2 separate regions of the Homo sapiens genome follow, and region 1 is linked to region 2. The links are contacts of gene promoters, found by promoter capture Hi-C in human tissues and cell types (Jung and others, 2019). All regions are on one chromosome and are shown on one strand. The core of a region is centred on a gene start or on the middle of the fragment in contact, and the rest is flanking DNA. Distances in the headings are between cores, read along the strand shown.

The links. Contacts are between HindIII fragments. The study calls those that stand out against the background at their distance.
Region 1: a fragment that was not itself captured here is called in contact with the fragment with the promoter of LCAT in region 2 in 2 of the 25 tissues and cell types used here (small bowel and spleen).

The regions. Positions count from the first base shown.
Region 1 is chr16:67,821,810-67,825,901 of GRCh38, reverse strand. It overlaps TSNAXIP1 (translin associated factor X interacting protein 1), which reads right to left. Exons shown (of 16, transcript NM_001288990.3): 5 at 2,183-2,276; 6 at 1,123-1,319; 7 at 630-765; 8 at 66-235. Among named protein-coding and RNA genes, the nearest start is that of TSNAXIP1, 17 kb to the right of the region's middle. RefSeq lists an enhancer at 1-412. The HindIII fragment of the contact is 3,588 bases long and covers 413-4,000 here.
Region 2 is chr16:67,942,870-67,947,499 of GRCh38, reverse strand. LCAT (lecithin-cholesterol acyltransferase) reads left to right here and starts at 3,380. Exons shown (of 6, transcript NM_000229.2): 1 at 3,380-3,552; 2 at 4,288-4,444; 3 at 4,524-4,630. The coding sequence starts at 3,399. It overlaps SLC12A4 (solute carrier family 12 member 4), which reads left to right. Exons shown (of 24, transcript NM_005072.5): 16 at 65-169; 17 at 395-563; 18 at 867-1,062; 19 at 1,160-1,329; 20 at 1,418-1,549; 21 at 1,629-1,736; 22 at 1,947-2,131; 23 at 2,280-2,413; 24 at 2,569-4,026. The coding sequence ends at 2,660. RefSeq lists an enhancer at 4,249-4,630. The HindIII fragment of the contact is 35,269 bases long and covers 1-4,630 here.

The sequences.
Region 1 (4,092 bases), core at 957-3,456, 120 kb after region 2:
TTGGCCCTGGCCCCCCACCTGTGAGACCCCGTCCTACCCTCCTGGCCCTGCCTGCCTGCCAGCACCTGCTCCTGAAGATCCTTGTTGGTCTTCTCCTGCATTTCAAAGTCCCTCCTGGGGACCACATCTCCAAAGTTGGCCTTCATGTTGTTGAGTTCCATCTGCGTGCGGGTCAGGTCTTGCCGGGTCATCTTAAGAGCCAGGGTTAACTTCACAGGGTCCTCCCCCCAGATGCCTGCCAGGGGAAGGGGCCCACCAGCCCGTGTCACCGTGGCTTTCTCAGGGGTTGCCTGAAGCCCTCTGCCCTTCCTGTTTGGGGTTCCCTGGTTCTTGCCCACAGCACTACCAGCCTAGGGTTTCAGGCTAAAGTCTAGAAGCCCAGGAAACTGAGTACCAGGCCTGTCCAGCCCACTGGGAGCCTAGGCTGCCTCAGCTACCAACTGTGTTCCTACAATTCTCAGTTCAACTCAGAAGATACACAGCCCTGCGGGAGGCAGGGACATCTCCCCTCTGAATGGTTATGGAATGAGCAGGTCTTAGGAATGCTGAATGAATGGGGCTTAGGGGTGAGACCAGAGTCTTCCAGCGTCTCAGAGAAGAGAGAAACCCGATTCCCAATTCAGGCTTACCTGGCGACTGGGCTAATGACATGTCCTCCCGCTGGTACCGCAGCTCATTCAGGTCTGCGATGAGGATCTTACAGGCATCTCGCTCACTGAGGTAGTGCAGGTACTCCTCAGCCAAGTTCTTCCTCAGTTTGGTCACCTGGCAAGAAGGTGGCTGTGTGGTCAGGGGCTGCCCCTGGACCCCTGTATGCAGCTGGTCACCCCAGGGAGTGGGCTGGGTTCTGGGGGGCCCCATCAGGGACTGTGAACAGGAAAGGTGAAAGAAGAAGGAGATTGGCCATTTCTGAGAATTCGGCAAGGTGCCAATGTTTCCCCCTGTGGGGAAAGTACTGAGCCTAGCAGCAGGGCAGAGGGTGGAGTTAGCAAGGCTCTGGGGGAAGGTGGTGGCTCAGTGTGTCACTCTCCGTAGAAAGGCAGAGCAGGGTAGGGGGTCACCCTTGTCGTGGAGTTGGCAGGAATTCGGGGACTTGGTCATCATCACACCACTTCCATTCACCTCGCTCTGCAATGAAATCTTCTCCTCATTCTTTTTGTCGATGAGTTTTAGCAAGTTCATCTTCTCTTTCTTGAGCAGGGAGATTTCATATTTCTCCTCAGCTCTCATGGCCAGGATCCTCTCATTGCAGTCCTCATTCACAGTGACAAGCTTGGCCTTCAGGGGCTCCAGAGCCCGAATCTTCTCCCTTTGGTGGGCTAAGCAGAGACAGGTGGGAGAGCTGCTTTGGGGCCATGGAGAACAAACAGCCAGAAGACACCCTAAGGTCATGGGTGAGTGGCTATGTCGCTTGCAAACCCCAAGAATCTCTGCATGCCTTGTTCAAAGCCATGGTCCCTGTTTCAGGCCTTCCTGCACTTGATTTTAAACAAAGGGCAGAGTTCAGATGAAGACCGGGGTCTCTCCTATGTCCTTTCCCCTACAGCCTTAAGTCCTGCAGCTGCACCATGCCCTGCACCTCCTGAGCCTGGCAGGGGAGCCTGCTGACTCCCAGAGGTGCTGACTCTCTCCTGGGGTTCACTCCATTTTCAACAGGGACTGCCCCCCTGTGCTTCTCAATGACAGGTGTTGTCAGGTGCTCTGGGGTGCCCTATCATGGAACAGTCTGTGCAGAATGGCTGAGGGGCCTTGGTGACCTCAAGGCCCAGTTGGTAGCTGCCCCAGCCCTGCTGTGGAGCACCAGAAGGTCGAATAGGATCTTCTCCACCCCTTCCAGGCTGGGACAAGGAGGGGAGCTGCATTCTTTTTTTTTTTTTTTTTTTGCGATGGAGTCTTGTTCTTTTGCCCAGGCTGGAGTGCGGTGGTGTGATCTCAACTCACTGCAACCTCCACCTCCTAGGTTCAAGCAATTCTCCTGCCTCAGTCTCCCAAGTAGCTGGGATTACAGGTGTGTGCCACCATGCGCAGCTAATTTTTTTGTGTTTTTACTAGAGACAGGGTTTCACCATGTTGGCCAGGCTGGTCTCAAACTCCTGACCTCAAGTGATCTACCGCCTCGGCCTCCTAAAGTGCTGGGATTACAGGCGTGAGCCACTACGCCTGGCAGGAGGTGCATTCTTACCCAGCATCCCCTCATACGCATTCTTGATGGAGGATAGTAATGGCTTGTACGTTTTGAAGTCCTCTATGAAGAACTCAAAGATCTCTCTGTAAGGCTGGCAAGAAAAGGGAACCCATCATCTCCTAGCCCACAGCTGCCAACCTTAGTGGGGAACTGTTTTTCTTTTTCTTTTTTCCTGAGACGGAGTGTCGCTCCATCACCCAGGCTGGAGTGCTGTGGTGCAATCTCAGCTCACTGCAACCTCTGCCTCCCAGGTTCAAGTGATTCTCCTGCCTCAGCCTCCTGAGTAGCTGGGATTACAGGCACGCGCCACCACACCTGGCTAATTTTTGTATTTTTAGTAGAGATGAGGTTTCACCATGTTGGCCTGGATGGTCTCGATCTCCTGACCTCGTGATCCACCCACCTCGGCCTCCCAGAGTGCTGGGATTACAGGTGTGAGCCACTGTGCCTGGCACTGTTTTTTTCTTTACTGGGCTTAGCAGTATTCCAGCATGAGGCTGCCAGGTCACTTATATTCAAGTAAATGCCCTAGATACCACCCGGGTACCTCACAGTGCCACGGAGCCTGGGGGGCAGCTCTCTGGAGGCCTGTCCTGATGCTGTCTCTGAGGCCTAGTGGACTGCCATGACCATAGACAGACATCCACTCTGTGCCTGAGCCCCTCTCTGGCTCTCCAGGCAGCCAGCCTCTTGCCTTCTAGACACTGCATCATTGGCCTCTCACTTGTAACCTCTCCCCATCTTAGAGCCTGGTAGATTCAGGAGATTGAAGGTTGTACCCTTGCATCCTGACATGCAAGTAGGGGTGTGGTCTTCTGTCCCATTTGGACACATGGGAGGTTTCTGGAGGCAGCATTGCTCACTGAAATGAGCACAGTCTCCAGAGTCAGCCCTGAGTTTGAAGCCCAGCCCCACTACGCCATAGTGGTATGCTTTCTTCCTTATCTGTTCAGGAGATCGATGTAAGGCCCCAGCCCAGGGCCTTGCACTTGCACATAGCCAGTGCTCAGTAAATGCTTTAGTCAATGACTAAGTCAAAAGGCAGGGATTCTCTGTCATCATCCTTGTTTAAGCAGATTTGGTGATTCTCTCCCTACTATACACTGGTATCTGGGTTGGATCTGATCTCTCTCTCTCTCTCTCTCTCTCTTCCTCCCTCCCTCCTTATGCATCTGTGCTGGTTCCTTAAGCTTGGGGTTGTTGCCACTGGACTGGTAAACACGGTGTGACCCCTGCTTGCCCAACTGCCAGCATTCAGGCTACGTTCACTGATGTCCAGTGGCCCAACCTGGGTACTGGGGATCACAGAGCTGCAGGGACTGGGCACAGCATCCAGGCCACCTGACTCAGGTGAGGAAACTCCAGCCTCAGGAGACTTTTGGATCCACATTGCAGCCTTGCCTGCTCACTGGCGTTTTCTTTTTTTTTTTTTTTTTTTGAGATGGAGTCTCACTCTGTTGCCCAGGCTGGAGTGCAGTGGCGTGAACTTGGCTCACTGCAAGCTCCGCCTCCCAGGTTCATGCCATTCTCCTGCCTCAGCCTCCCGAGCAGCTGGGACTACAGGTGCCTGCCACCACACCTGGCTAATTTTTTTGTATTTTTAGTAGAGACGGGGTTTCACCATGTTAGCCAGGATGGTCTCGATCTCCTGACCTGGTGATCCGCCTGCCTCGGCCTCCCAAACTGCTGGGATTACAGGTGTGAGCCACCGTGCCTGGCCTTCTTTTTTCTGTTGACAGAGTCTCACTCTGTTGCCCAGGCTGTAGTGCAGTGGCATGATCTCGGCTCACTGCAACCTCTGCCGCCTGGGTTCAAGCAATTCTCCTGCCTCAGCCTCCTGAGTAGCTGGGACTACAGGTGTGTACCACCACTGCAGGTTTTGTATTTTTAGTAGAGGCAGGGTTTCA
Region 2 (4,630 bases), core at 2,131-4,630:
CATCCACATAGACAGAACCCCCTGGGCGGCACCAGGGGCTCACCAGCTGTGGTGGAATCTGCAGGGCTGAGAAGGAGTGGGGTGACGGGATCCGAGGCCTGTCCCTGAGCGCTGCCCGCTACGCGCTGTTGCGGCTGGAGGAGGGGCCTCCTCACACCAAGAACTGGCGGTGAGTTCCCGCCAGACCCTGGCCAGGGCGCAGAGGTTCTTAGGGGTCGCTGTCGGGGTCAGAGGGTCGAGAGGTGCCGGCTCCCCATCCTGGGGCTGCCCGGGGCACCCTCCTGGGCCATGCTACCCAAACCTGCAGGGACCACGACCCGAGAAGGGAAGAAGAGGAGGGGCTCCCTAGAACGGCCGGCCCTGGTCTCAGGCTCCCCCCACCCGGCCACTGCAGGCCGCAGCTGCTGGTGCTGCTGAAGCTGGACGAGGACCTCCACGTGAAGTACCCGCGGCTCCTCACCTTCGCCTCCCAGCTCAAGGCTGGCAAGGGCCTGACCATTGTTGGTTCTGTCATCCAGGGGAGCTTCTTGGAGAGCTATGGCGAGGCTCAGGCCGCCGAGCAGGTACTTGCTTTGGGGAGGGAGAGCTGAGCCAGACTACAGGGGTCTGGACTGCAGCTGGCACGGAGGGGAGGGCCCAGTCTTGGCCAGGGTGGCCAGCCAGGCAGCCAGCACTGCTGCCACCTGAGAGCTGGCACAAGGGGGAGCCAGCAGTCCCATCTTGAAAACTTGGCCTCTGGGTAGGCAGCTTGTTGCCCCCAGGCCCTCCTCCACCCAAAAGTCGTTTTGTTCCCGAGGGGCCTTGGGAGGGAGCCCAGAGGCAGGAAGCTGATGGCCTCCCATTGGCCCTGGGTGTGTTCCCCACAGACCATCAAGAACATGATGGAAATTGAGAAGGTGAAGGGCTTCTGCCAGGTGGTGGTGGCCAGCAAGGTGCGGGAGGGGCTGGCCCACCTCATCCAGTCCTGTGGCCTGGGAGGCATGCGGCATAACTCCGTGGTGCTGGGCTGGCCCTACGGCTGGCGACAGAGCGAGGACCCCCGTGCCTGGAAGACCTTCATTGGTGTGTGAAGGCCTGGGGCCTGGTGGGCAGGGGTGAAGTGAGGTGGCAGTGGGCGGAGGGCCACAGACTGGTGGTCAGCCGTGCTCCTCCTCCCCAGACACCGTGCGCTGCACTACGGCTGCCCACCTGGCCCTGCTCGTGCCCAAGAACATCGCCTTCTACCCCAGCAACCACGAGCGCTACCTGGAGGGCCACATAGACGTGTGGTGGATCGTGCACGATGGTGGCATGCTCATGCTTCTGCCCTTCCTGCTGCGCCAGCATAAGGTAGACCAGGGGGTGGGTGCAGATGAGAGGGGCTAGGCCCTTGGAGGAGCAGCTGTGACCAAACCGCCCACCTGGTCCCTTGCCTCAGGTCTGGAGGAAGTGCCGGATGCGCATCTTCACAGTGGCCCAGATGGATGACAACAGCATCCAGATGAAGAAGGACCTGGCTGTCTTTCTGTACCATCTGCGCCTTGAGGCCGAGGTGGAGGTGGTGGAGATGGTGAGCCCTCTGCCCTGCCCTGGCCCCGTGGATACCATGTCCCGTGCAGCTGGGTCCTCACGGCCAACCCTGTCCCCAGCATAACAGTGACATCTCTGCATACACCTACGAGCGGACGCTGATGATGGAGCAGCGGTCGCAGATGCTGCGGCAGATGAGACTGACCAAGACTGAGCGGGAGCGAGAAGTCAGTGCCCTTTGTGGTTCACGCCAGGGCGGGTGGCAGGGTCAGGCCTTTGGAGACCGCATCGGTGGGTGCGGAGGAATCAGAATGACTCACCGCAGCCCTACCCAAGCTAGTGCTCATTTCCCGGAGGCAAGGTGGTCACATTGGGCCAGACAGGCCCCATCCCCCTTTTCCTATGGGACCAAGGCTATCTCCTGCAATTGTCCTCAGGCCCAGCTGGTCAAGGATCGGCACTCGGCCCTGCGGCTGGAGAGCCTGTACTCGGACGAGGAAGATGAGTCTGCAGTGGGGGCTGACAAGATCCAGATGACGTGGACCAGGGACAAGTACATGACTGAGACCTGGGACCCCAGCCATGCCCCTGACAATTTCCGGGAGCTGGTGCACATTAAGCCGTGAGTGCAGCAAAAACAGCCCCAGCGGCACTGGAATCTAGGGGTGGAGGTGGGGTGGGGCAGACAAGTAGTGTTAGATGGGCCAGGGGTGGGGACCCTCCTTGCAGGATGGCTCATGGCGACCTGTGACTGGCTACACTACGTGTAGGGACCAATCCAATGTGCGGCGCATGCACACTGCTGTGAAGCTCAATGAAGTCATTGTCACGCGCTCCCACGACGCCCGCCTGGTTCTCCTAAACATGCCTGGCCCACCCAGGAACAGTGAGGGCGACGAGAACTGTATCCCTTTGTGGAGAGGCAGGCAGTTGGGAGGTGGATAGCATGGGAGGTCAAGCCAGCGGCTTCTCTCCTGGGCACCCCTGGGTGGGCATGGCCCAGGTGGCCCGGGTTGCCCGTTGATTCTGTTGTTGCCTCCTTGACTTGAGGCCCTGCAGACATGGAGTTCCTCGAGGTGCTGACCGAGGGCCTTGAGCGGGTGCTGTTGGTGCGCGGTGGTGGCCGTGAAGTCATCACCATCTACTCCTGAGCCCAGTGTCATCTTGTGGCCTGGAGTCGAGGTCTTGGCCAGGACATAACAAGCTGTGGTCTGGGGTAACAGCCTCTTCCCAGCACCCACCTGCCAGCCCTGCTTGCCTGGCCCTGTCCTGGACCCAGCTTTGCTAGGTCTCCTTGGAAACCAGGCCTGGGCCTCAAAATGGAGATGGATCCCAGGTCTTGTGGGACCCTGGGATGTTTGGGGACTTTACTATCTAGCACCCCAGTAGGCCTGTCCTGGCCAGAGAAGACTGGTAGGGGCCGAGTGGGGTTTGAAGGCAGCCGGCCCGGCCCAGCCCAGGAGCGCTATTTATTGCATATTTATTGTTTGGATGTCACCATCAGAGACGAAGGGAAGGGTAGCCAGGGAGGGAGTCCAGCCCAGCTGCCTGCAGGAAGATCTGGCTCAGTCTACTATGGGCAGGGCCCCCCACCAAGCTGAGCCGAATGGAGACAGCTGAGCTGAGGCCTGACTTTTTCAATAAAACATTGTGTAGTTCTGGGCCTCCTGCTGCCCCGGCTCTGTTTCCCCTGGCGCCAAGAGAAGAAGGCGGAACTGAACCCAGGCCCAGAGCCGGCTCCCTGAGGCTGTGCCCCTTTCCGGCAATCTCTGGCCACAACCCCCACTGGCCAGGCCGTCCCTCCCACTGGCCCTAGGGCCCCTCCCACTCCCACACCAGATAAGGACAGCCCAGTGCCGCTTTCTCTGGCAGTAGGCACCAGGGCTGGAATGGGGCCGCCCGGCTCCCCATGGCAGTGGGTGACGCTGCTGCTGGGGCTGCTGCTCCCTCCTGCCGCCCCCTTCTGGCTCCTCAATGTGCTCTTCCCCCCGCACACCACGCCCAAGGCTGAGCTCAGTAACCACACACGGCCCGTCATCCTCGGTAAGCCCCCACCAGGCCCCTGATGCACCACGCCAGACCCTGGGGAGCCTGGGCCCCAGCCCCTGGCAGCTGACCTGGCCAAAGCCCTTCTGCCCTGCATAAGCCCCGACATAAGTACCTGCCCTGGTGTGGGGAGGGGCCAAAAGCTTGTCCCTTAGAGGAATGACGTCCCTTCTCCCACCACACTGTGACTCTCAGTTGTCTAACCCAGGGGGGGCGGAGTGGGGGACGGGGTGTGCCTGAGGTCTTGGCTGGGGCATCACAAGCTGTGGTCAGTCACAGCCACACCAGACTCTGGGCCAAGCCCCACCACTCCTTCCTTGGCCCCCACCCACCAAGGACAAGATGCCCAGCCCAGGATCGGTGAGCAGGAGAGGCCCATCCATGCCCGGCCCCTATTAGGCCCAGCCCCCATGCCCCCAGACCTATCTGTTCCCACCTTGGACTTTGGCAATAAAGGAGCGCCAGACTGGGTGTTTGCTCTGCAGAGGCAGGGGTCAGCGGCCTTGGCCTCAGCACCTCAGCGCCTTCCCTTCCTCAGGGAAGCCTGGGCTTTGGCTACTGGGGGGACAGCAGGGAGAGGGGGTGTAAGCAGGGGAGGGTAAGTGTGCTTTGTACCTGGGGGTTGAGGGTATGGGAGGTGGGGGGTGGGTCTGGTCACTGCAGCATCTGGGGTGACGGGGGTAAGGGTCACGGGGGGAATCCAGAGTCCAGAGTGAGGGCTGCTGCTCACAGTGCCCGGCTGCCTGGGGAATCAGCTAGAAGCCAAGCTGGACAAACCAGATGTGGTGAACTGGATGTGCTACCGCAAGACAGAGGACTTCTTCACCATCTGGCTGGATCTCAACATGTTCCTACCCCTTGGGGTAGACTGCTGGATCGATAACACCAGGTACAGCCATGTGCTCCACCCTAGCCCCAACACGCTGCCCCTTGGCTACTGGCTGCTGAGTGGCACCCCCGCCCCGCAGGGTTGTCTACAACCGGAGCTCTGGGCTCGTGTCCAACGCCCCTGGTGTCCAGATCCGCGTCCCTGGCTTTGGCAAGACCTACTCTGTGGAGTACCTGGACAGCAGCA